Linked DNA regions of Homo sapiens: all the other regions are linked to region 2. Evidence: promoter capture Hi-C in human tissues and cell types (Jung and others, 2019). All regions are on one chromosome and are shown on one strand. The core of a region is centred on a gene start or on the middle of the fragment in contact, and the rest is flanking DNA. Distances in the headings are between cores, read along the strand shown.

Region 1 (2,990 bases), core at 1-2,500, 370 kb after region 2:
TCGACATAGTGTGGTGGTGCCCTATGAGCCGCCTGAGGTCTGGTTTGCAACTGGGGTCTCTGGGAGGAGGGGTTAAGGGTGGTTGTCAGTGGCCCTCCAGGTGAGCAGTAGGGGGGCTTTCTCCTGCTGCTTATTTGACCTCCCTATAACCCCATGAGATGTGCAAAGTAAATGGGTTTAACTATTGCACAGTTGAAAAAACTGAAGCTTACAGAGGCTAAGGGCCTCCCCTGCTTGGCTGGGCGCAGTGGCTCATGCCTGTAATCCCAGCACTTTGGGAGGCCAAGGCAGGCGGATCACGAGGTTGGGAGATCGAGACCATCCTGGCTAACGGTGAAACCCCGTCTCTACTGAAAAATACAAAAAAAAATTAGCCGGGCGTGGTGCTGGGCACCTGTAGTCCCAGCTACTCGGGAGGCTGAGGAAGGAGAATGGCGTGAACCTGGGCGGTGGAGCTTGCAGTGAGCTGAGATCACGCCACTGCACTCCAGCCTGGGCGACAGAGCGAGATTCCATCTCAAAAAAAAAAAAAAAAGGCCTCCCCTGCTTGCCACAGGTCTCCCCAAGGCGCACTGGCCTCATCTTGGGCCTGTGTTATCTCCTAGGTTGGCTCTGACTGTACCACCATCCACTACAACTACATGTGTAACAGTTCCTGCATGGGCGGCATGAACCGGAGGCCCATCCTCACCATCATCACACTGGAAGACTCCAGGTCAGGAGCCACTTGCCACCCTGCACACTGGCCTGCTGTGCCCCAGCCTCTGCTTGCCTCTGACCCCTGGGCCCACCTCTTACCGATTTCTTCCATACTACTACCCATCCACCTCTCATCACATCCCCGGCGGGGAATCTCCTTACTGCTCCCACTCAGTTTTCTTTTCTCTGGCTTTGGGACCTCTTAACCTGTGGCTTCTCCTCCACCTACCTGGAGCTGGAGCTTAGGCTCCAGAAAGGACAAGGGTGGTTGGGAGTAGATGGAGCCTGGTTTTTTAAATGGGACAGGTAGGACCTGATTTCCTTACTGCCTCTTGCTTCTCTTTTCCTATCCTGAGTAGTGGTAATCTACTGGGACGGAACAGCTTTGAGGTGCGTGTTTGTGCCTGTCCTGGGAGAGACCGGCGCACAGAGGAAGAGAATCTCCGCAAGAAAGGGGAGCCTCACCACGAGCTGCCCCCAGGGAGCACTAAGCGAGGTAAGCAAGCAGGACAAGAAGCGGTGGAGGAGACCAAGGGTGCAGTTATGCCTCAGATTCACTTTTATCACCTTTCCTTGCCTCTTTCCTAGCACTGCCCAACAACACCAGCTCCTCTCCCCAGCCAAAGAAGAAACCACTGGATGGAGAATATTTCACCCTTCAGGTACTAAGTCTTGGGACCTCTTATCAAGTGGAAAGTTTCCAGTCTAACACTCAAAATGCCGTTTTCTTCTTGACTGTTTTACCTGCAATTGGGGCATTTGCCATCAGGGGGCAGTGATGCCTCAAAGACAATGGCTCCTGGTTGTAGCTAACTAACTTCAGAACACCAACTTATACCATAATATATATTTTAAAGGACCAGACCAGCTTTCAAAAAGAAAATTGTTAAAGAGAGCATGAAAATGGTTCTATGACTTTGCCTGATACAGATGCTACTTGACTTACGATGGTGTTACTTCCTGATAAACTCGTCGTAAGTTGAAAATATTGTAAGTTGAAAATGGATTTAATACACCTAATCTAAGGAACATCATAGCTTAGCCTAGCCTGCTTTTTTTTTTTTTTTTTTTGGAGACAGAGTCTCACTCTGTCACCCAGGCTGGAGTGCAGTGGCGGGATCTCGGCTCACTGCAACCTCCGCCTTCTGGGTTCAAGCGATTCTCCTGCCTCAGCCCACTGAGTAGCTGGGATTACAGGCACCTGCCCCGACGCCCAGCTAATTTTTTGTTATTTATTTATTTTTTTTTTTAGTAGAGATGAGGTTTCACCATGTTGGCCAGGCTAGTCTCGAACTCCTGACCTTGTGATCTGCCTGCCTTGGCCTCCCAAAGTGCTGGGATTACAGGCGTGAGCCACCGCACCCGGCCTGCCTAGCCTACTTTTATTTTATTTTTAATGGAGACAGCATCTTGCTCTGTTGCCCAGGCTGGATTACAGTGATGTGATCATAGCTCATTATACCCTCCTGGGCTCAAGCAATCCCCCTAACTCTGCCTCCCCAGTAGCTAGGACCACAGGCATACACCACCATACCCAGCTAATTTTTAAAATTTTTTGTAGATAGATAGAGTCTCACTATGTTGCCCAGGCTGGTCTCTAGCCTACTTTTTTGAGACAAGGTCTTGCTCTGTCACCCAGGCTGGATAGAGTGCAGTAGTGCAGTCACAGCTCACTGCAGCCTCCACCTCCCAGGCTCCATCCATCCTCCCAGCTCAGCCTCCCAAGTTGCTTCAACTACAGGCCTGCACCACCATGCCTGGCTAATTTTTATTTATTTATTTTTATTTTATTTTATTTTATTTTTTTGAGACTCAGTCTCACTCTGTCGCCCAGGCTGGAGTGCAGTGGCATGATCTCGGCTCACTGCAACCTCTGCCTCCTGGGTTCAAGTGATTCTCCTGCCTCAGCCTCCCGAATAGCTAGGACTACAAGCGCCTGCTACCACGCCCAGCTAATTTTTGTATTTTTAGTAGAGACAGGGTTTCACCATGTTGGCCAGGCTGGTCTCGAACTTCTGACCATGTGATCCGCCCGCCTCGGCCTCCCAAAGTGCTGGGATTACAGGTGTGAGCCACCACGCCCGGCTAATTTTTATTTATTTATTTAAAGACAGAGTCTCACTCTGTCACTCAGGCTAGAGTGCAGTGGCACCATCTCAGCTCACTGCAGCCTTGACCTCCCTGGGCTCCGGTGATTTCACCCTCCCAAGTAGCTAGGACTACAGGCACATGCCACGACACCCAGCTAATTTTTTATTTTCTGTGAAGTCAAGGTCTTGCTACGTTGCCCA
Region 2 (2,824 bases), core at 47-2,546:
CAGGCTGGTCTCGAACTCCCGACCTCCAGTGATCCGCCTCCCTCAGCCTCCCAAAGTGCTGAGATTACAGGTGTGAGCCACCACGGCACCTGGCCCTAGAGCAGTGTTTTTCAAACATCAGTGGCCACCAGAGTCATCTGGAAGGCTTGTCAAAACAAAAATTCCCACTCTACACCCTCAGTGTCGTAGTAGGTTGGAGGTGGCCTGAGAATTTGCATTTCTAATACGTTCCTGTAGACGCTGCTGATCCCAGGAGCAGCTTTGATAGGAGAGGTGGAGGCAGGGGCTTTTAATCTCTGTCATGACCAGGACACTCAAGCTGCCCCTCATCGTTTGGGCACACCCTCCCCCATCAGTAACCCCCTCCTCACTGGTACATCTCCTGCCGGGCCTGAAGCTCCTCCTGGCGCTGTTGCTGGAGCACAGGGTGGTGGTCTGCCCAGGACACCTTGGCTGTGGGAGAAGGGGAGTAGGTTGGGGTGGGGAGAGAAACTCACCATCACTACCACCAGCCACACAGTCTCCACGATTGCCACCCTCTACCAGGTCCCCTCCTCCCATAAGTACAGTTTCTCCTACACCAGGCTGCTACCTCCCGCTCCCCAAGGCTCCGCCATTCCCTCTCCTCTGCCCGCTACTCTGTGGCCACACCAGCTCACCTCTCCATTTCACCTGCCCTTCTCCCCAACCCCCAGTCCCCTACCCCTTCCTGTGCTCCCCCTGCAGCCCCAGCCCGGCCCGCCCCTCACCTGTACCCTCCTGCAGCACCAGGGTCCCCGCCCCCTCCAGCCACTGGTAGCAGGGGAAGAGGAGGTGGCCGCCCCGCGGCGGTGTCAGCTGGAACCAGCGGCAGAACCAGGCATCCGGGGCCAGGGGCCCCAGCAGGGGCAGCACTGGGGGCGCCTTGTGCACGCGCAGCAGCAGCACTCGGCCTACGTCCTCCGGGAGCGTCACCTGGAAGTCCTCCTCCTGAGGGGAGGTTAAGTATGCGTCAGGCCGGACCCTCCTGCTCGCCCCCTTCACCTCCACCCCATCCACTCCCACGCACTCACAGCGCCCGCAGTGAACTCCTTGCCGAGATTGTCCAGGGGCAGTGGGGGGCTCTCTCCCCGGGTCCCCACGATGCTGACAGACACTTTGTCCCATGTGCCAGCCCCGAAGGCTTCTCCGGTGGACACCCTGACCCTGAACTCGGCCATGCTGCCAGCCTAAGTCCAGCTCTCTACGGCGCACAGGGCTGCAGAGCGGGGCTCCCCCCTGGGACACGCCTGGTTATTGCCCCTGGTTATTGCCACTGACTCCAAGCCCAGTGGACTCCTCTAAAAAGCACGTCCGTTTCAGGGCGGGGAGGGGCGGGGCGGAGAGGCTGGAACACGCAACTAAAGTGGGGGTGGGCGGGGGATTGGCAGCGCTGGGAACAGGAGGGACTAAGAATACCCTGAGGTTTGGGGAACGGGGCCTTTCAGTGGTGGTGCCAGGCCAGAGAGCCTAGAGTTGGGACCCAGTTGGGGTGGGGGTAGATTTGTGCCCACCACGTCTGTTTGTTTTCCTTCTTAGCCTTAGAAGTCTATGCAAAAATATCACCCCATTTCCCACAACTCTTCTTGGGCCTGCGTTCATTATTTTTAAAATTTATTTATTTATTTATTTTTGAGACAGAGGCTTGCTCTGTCGCCAGGCTGGAGTGCAGCAGCATGATCTCGGCTCACTGGAACCTCCTCCTCCTGGGTTCAAGTGATTCTCCTACCTCAGCCTCCCCAGTAGCTGAGACAACAGGCGAGTGCCACCATGCCCAGCTAATTTTTGTATTTTAGTAGAGACGGGGTTCCACCATGTAGGCCAGGATGATCTTGATCTCTTGACCTCATGATCCGCCTGCCTCGGCCTCCCAAAGTGCTGGGATTACAGGCGTGAGCCACCGCGCCCAGCCTACATTCATTATTTTATTTCATTCAATAATTAATGTTCAGAACTACCTCTGTGCCAGGTGCTATGCTCACTGCTATTGATAAAGGCCCAGGCAAGACCTAGTGCTTGCTCTCATGGAGATTAAAAATCAAGTGTGAGGCCAGGCACAGTTGCTGGCCAACATGGTGAAACCCCATCTCTACTAAAAATACAAAAAAATTAGCCAAGCGTGGTGGCGGGCGCCTGTAGTCCCAGCTACTCAGGAGGCTGAGGCAGGAGAATAGCTTGAACCCGGAAGGCGGAGGTTTCAGTGAGGTGAAGTTGTGCCATTGCACTCCAGCATGGGCGACAGAGCAAATCTCGGTCTAAAAAAAAAAAATCAAGTGTGAGAGAAAATAAGTAAACCAACACATAATTTCAGATGATAATAAGTGCAATGAAGGAAATGAAACAGACTAATGTGAAGGAGTGAGAAGCAGAGGTGGGAAGGGAGGCGTTCAGAGCCTCAGAGGAGGTGAAAGGATCTGTCTGGGGAACAGAGTTTTGTGCAGAGGAAACTGTTCCTGAAGAGGCCCTGTGGTTAGGAAAAGCTTGGCTTGTTGGAGGAGGGAAAGGCAAGAGTGCAGTGAGGGAGGGATTTGGGGGAGAGATGCCAAGGGGAAGTTATGGATTTGGGCTTTGGGGGAATAACATAACAGATTTGGGGTTTTCGGTCTGGAGATGCTAAGTTTGAGATGGCCATTAGACATCCAAGTGGAGAACCCACGTCTGGGCATAGAGCTCAGGACTGCAGGTGTGCATCTTTGAGTCACAAGCACACAGGTACATCTATACCACAGGCTGGTGGAGATCACTAGGCAGAGAATATCCTATAAGTAGAGAAGAGAAGAGGCACAAGCTGTGCCCTAAGGTCCTC
Region 3 (3,146 bases), core at 384-2,883, 260 kb after region 2:
GCCTGTAATCCTAGCTACTCGGGAGGCTGAGGCAGGAGAATCGCTTGAACCTGGGAGGCGGAGGTTGCGGTGAGCCAAGATTGTGCCATTGCACTCCAGCCTGGGCAACAAGAGTGAAACTCCATCTCAAAAAAACAAAACAAAACAAAACAAAAAAACAGTCCTCCTGAAGACTTCAGGTTTGCTCCAGTCTGGATTGGCTTCTCTCTTTGCCCAGTGCACCACCATCATCCTGTGACCTCCATTCACCAACACCCCGAGGATTACTGTAGCCTCCCCCTTGCACCAAATCTTTTGTTTCCCATCGTCCTTTTCACGATGTGTTCCTGTGTTTAAGTAGAGCACGTTTTTCTAGTAGCTTTTGGAGAAAGTAGTTGTGACTACAGGAGCACACCTCCATGTGTGGCTATTTTTTTTTTTAAGAGATGGAGGTCTTGCTATGTTACCCAGGCTGGTCTTGAACTCCTAGCCTAAAGTGATCCTGTTGCCTCAGCCTCCAAAGTGTTGAGATGACAGGCGTGAACCACCGCACCTCGCCCCTATCAGTTTCAATATCTGAAGTAAGTTTTCATGGATCTGATTCCACTGTCTGTTGTTCTTCTGGCTCCCATTCATGGTTTCTTGTTTCCTTGTGTGTTTTGTGATTTTTGACCATGAGTTGCTCATTTTCTTGGACTTTTACCTGTGGCACTTCTTTGAAGTGTGAGTTGAAATTTCATTCCTCCAGAAATAATTTGCTTTTGCTTCTTCCAGTCACCTGGGGGCACTAACAACCTAGAACTACTTAATATTGAAATCTAAGCTTGAGATTTCTTTTCTGATTACACAGTAGGATAAATGATGACTGGAAACCATGTGAGAGCTGGTGTGTGGTTAGGAAATCTCAAAGAAAATTTGGTCTTTTTCTTCCATCATCAGAGGTCAAAACAAGCAAGTTTCTTTCCTGTATATACGCTTCTAAATCTCAGACTTCTCGTTTTTCCATCTACTGGGGATGTTGCCCCTTGGGGACTGGGGTTTATGCAGCACTGCATCTTCTGTTATATCTTCAGACTTGGGTTGTTTCATCTCCTATCCTCACTGCCTTAAGATCAACAACAGTTTTCAGGGAGAAGGCCAGCTTTGGTACTTACCTGCCTCCCAGGGTTCCTGCTTTTACTCCCTACCCTCCTCAACTCCTGGAATTCTTCCTTTCTTGCCAGCTTAGCAATGCATTAAAAAGGATGTTATTATTATATTTTTATCCATCATTTTAGTAGTTTCAATTGAAAGGATCATTCAGGGTATCTAGACTACCACACTGCCAGAGAAGAAAGTTCTTATGCTTTCTAAAACTCCCTCTTCCATTCTGCTGCTCTCTGATACCAAATGGCTTCTAGCAGCCCCTCCTCAAAACTCCCTGATGAGGTGAGAAGTAGAGGCATGGAGGACTGATGGGCACGGAGAAAGTGCAAAGGCAACGGACTAGAGGTTTCAATGAAGTCAGAGCGTTGCTGCATGGATGCACTTGAGCAGGTACACTTGAGTAGGTCAGCGGAGGAGGGAGTTGTGGTCAGAGAGCAGAATGTTTGAATAGTCTATTGCTTTATAGATAAGGAAGTCCAAAGAGAGGTCAATTGACTTGTTCAGAGTCATAGCTAGTAGATGGCAGAACAAGGACTGGAAGCCAAGTTTTCTATTCCCAGATGCATATTCACATATGTGGTCAGGGAGAGTGCGGTTTTTTTGTTTTTGTTTTGTTTTTTGAGACACGGTCTTGCTCTGTCACCCAGGCTGGAGTGCAGAGGCACAATCTCAGCTCATTATAGCCTCAATCTCCTGGGGCTCAAGCAATCCTCCTACCTCAGCCTCCCGAGTAGCTGGGACTACACTCGTGTGCACCACCATGCCTGGCTAATTTTTGTACTTTTTGTAGATACAGGGTTTCACCATGTTGCCCAGGCTAGTCTCAAACTCCTGGACTCAAACAGTCTGCCCACCTCGGCCTCCCAAAGTGCTGGGATTACAACCATGAGCCACAGCACCCGGTCAGGGAGAGTATTAAGGAACAAATACCTTGCCATAGTCAATGACAGGCAGCTCAATGTTGGGAAACAGATCTTGCACGATGGCATTGAACAGGGGTGCATCAACTGAAGTGAGCTTGGCGATGTTCATATCTCTCATTGAGAGCAGCAGAACCTGAATGGGAAAAGACAGAGACTCAGGCTTGAGGAGGCAGGGCCTAGGCCTTTCACCTCCAAAGGGCTTCGGGGCACGTGCCAAGAACAATGGATACACCAGTTAGCCATTAGCAAAGCAGCGGGCAACACGGGGATGGGACGAGGTGGGAAGGTGAGAATCCCAATCTGAGGAAAGAAAGGGTCTGAAAGACTTGAGAGAAGTGACATAGGTCCAGTGACAGTGGAAGTCAGGTCCAAAGGCTGTGTCCTTGCTCTACCTCTTCATCAGTCAGATCCGGCTGTAGGCGGCGCTTCTTGCCAGCATAGCGCAGAAGGGAGGTGAGGGCACGCAGGCCAAAGTCATAGTGGTCCTGTCTGGACAGCTGCTGCACAGCCAGTGAGTAGAGTGTGTACACCTTCTTGGCCAGAATCTGGGGAACCAAAACAGAGGAGGAAACAGTCCATCTCCCCACAAATCCCTCTGCTTCATCTCAGGACAGTCAGAGACAAGAAGCCAGGTCCCAGGACATGAAGCAGCTAGGAGGCACTCTATGGATTCTCCTGAGGAAATTGTGTGAATGACGCCATTGTCAGTTAGTGATATCACGGAGGAGACACCTCCCTCCCCTAAATTTTTCTCCCCACACATCCTACTGACAATAGTCTAAGTTCCTTAGAGGATAAGCTGATTGTGAGGCCCTTGGGGAGCTCCTCTGTCCAGGGAATAATTATGAAAGGAAATTAAAATCACTGGAGAAAAGGGGTTATTGGAGTACCTTGCAGTTGCCAAAGCCCTCTCCAAAGAGAATGATTTCTGCAATGAGGGTGGAGTCAGGCACCACCATGGCAATTGGGCGGAACATGGATTTAAGATTTTCGGGAAGCTCTGTGCGGCCAGCATAGCCTGGAAAACAATGCCACTTGCTTAGAATCATATATTTCCTCATCTTGATTTGCTTCCCCAAACCCACTTTCCAATCAGTC

The links. Contacts are between HindIII fragments. The study calls those that stand out against the background at their distance.
Region 1: a contact is called between a fragment that was not itself captured here and the fragment with the promoter of ALOX15B in region 2, in 1 of the 25 tissues and cell types used here (aorta).
Region 3: a contact is called between a fragment that was not itself captured here and the fragment with the promoter of ALOX15B in region 2, in 2 of the 25 tissues and cell types used here (lymphoblastoid cells and spleen).

The regions. Positions count from the first base shown.
Region 1 is chr17:7,671,906-7,674,895 of GRCh38, reverse strand. It overlaps TP53 (tumor protein p53), which reads left to right. Exons shown (of 11, transcript NM_000546.6): 6 at 1-37; 7 at 606-715; 8 at 1,059-1,195; 9 at 1,288-1,361. Among named protein-coding and RNA genes, the nearest start is that of TP53, 14 kb to the left of the region's middle. The HindIII fragment of the contact is 4,764 bases long and covers 1-2,990 here.
Region 2 is chr17:8,037,531-8,040,354 of GRCh38, reverse strand. ALOX15B (arachidonate 15-lipoxygenase type B) reads right to left here and starts at 1,296. Exons shown (of 14, transcript NM_001141.3): 1 at 1,053-1,296; 2 at 750-969; 3 at 372-453. The coding sequence starts at 1,199. The HindIII fragment of the contact is 17,440 bases long and covers 1-2,824 here.
Region 3 is chr17:7,780,077-7,783,222 of GRCh38, reverse strand. DNAH2 (dynein axonemal heavy chain 2) reads right to left here. Exons shown (of 86, transcript NM_020877.5): 37 at 2,939-3,066; 38 at 2,441-2,593; 39 at 2,056-2,181. Among named protein-coding and RNA genes, the nearest start is that of KDM6B, 53 kb to the left of the region's middle. The HindIII fragment of the contact is 3,196 bases long and covers 36-3,146 here.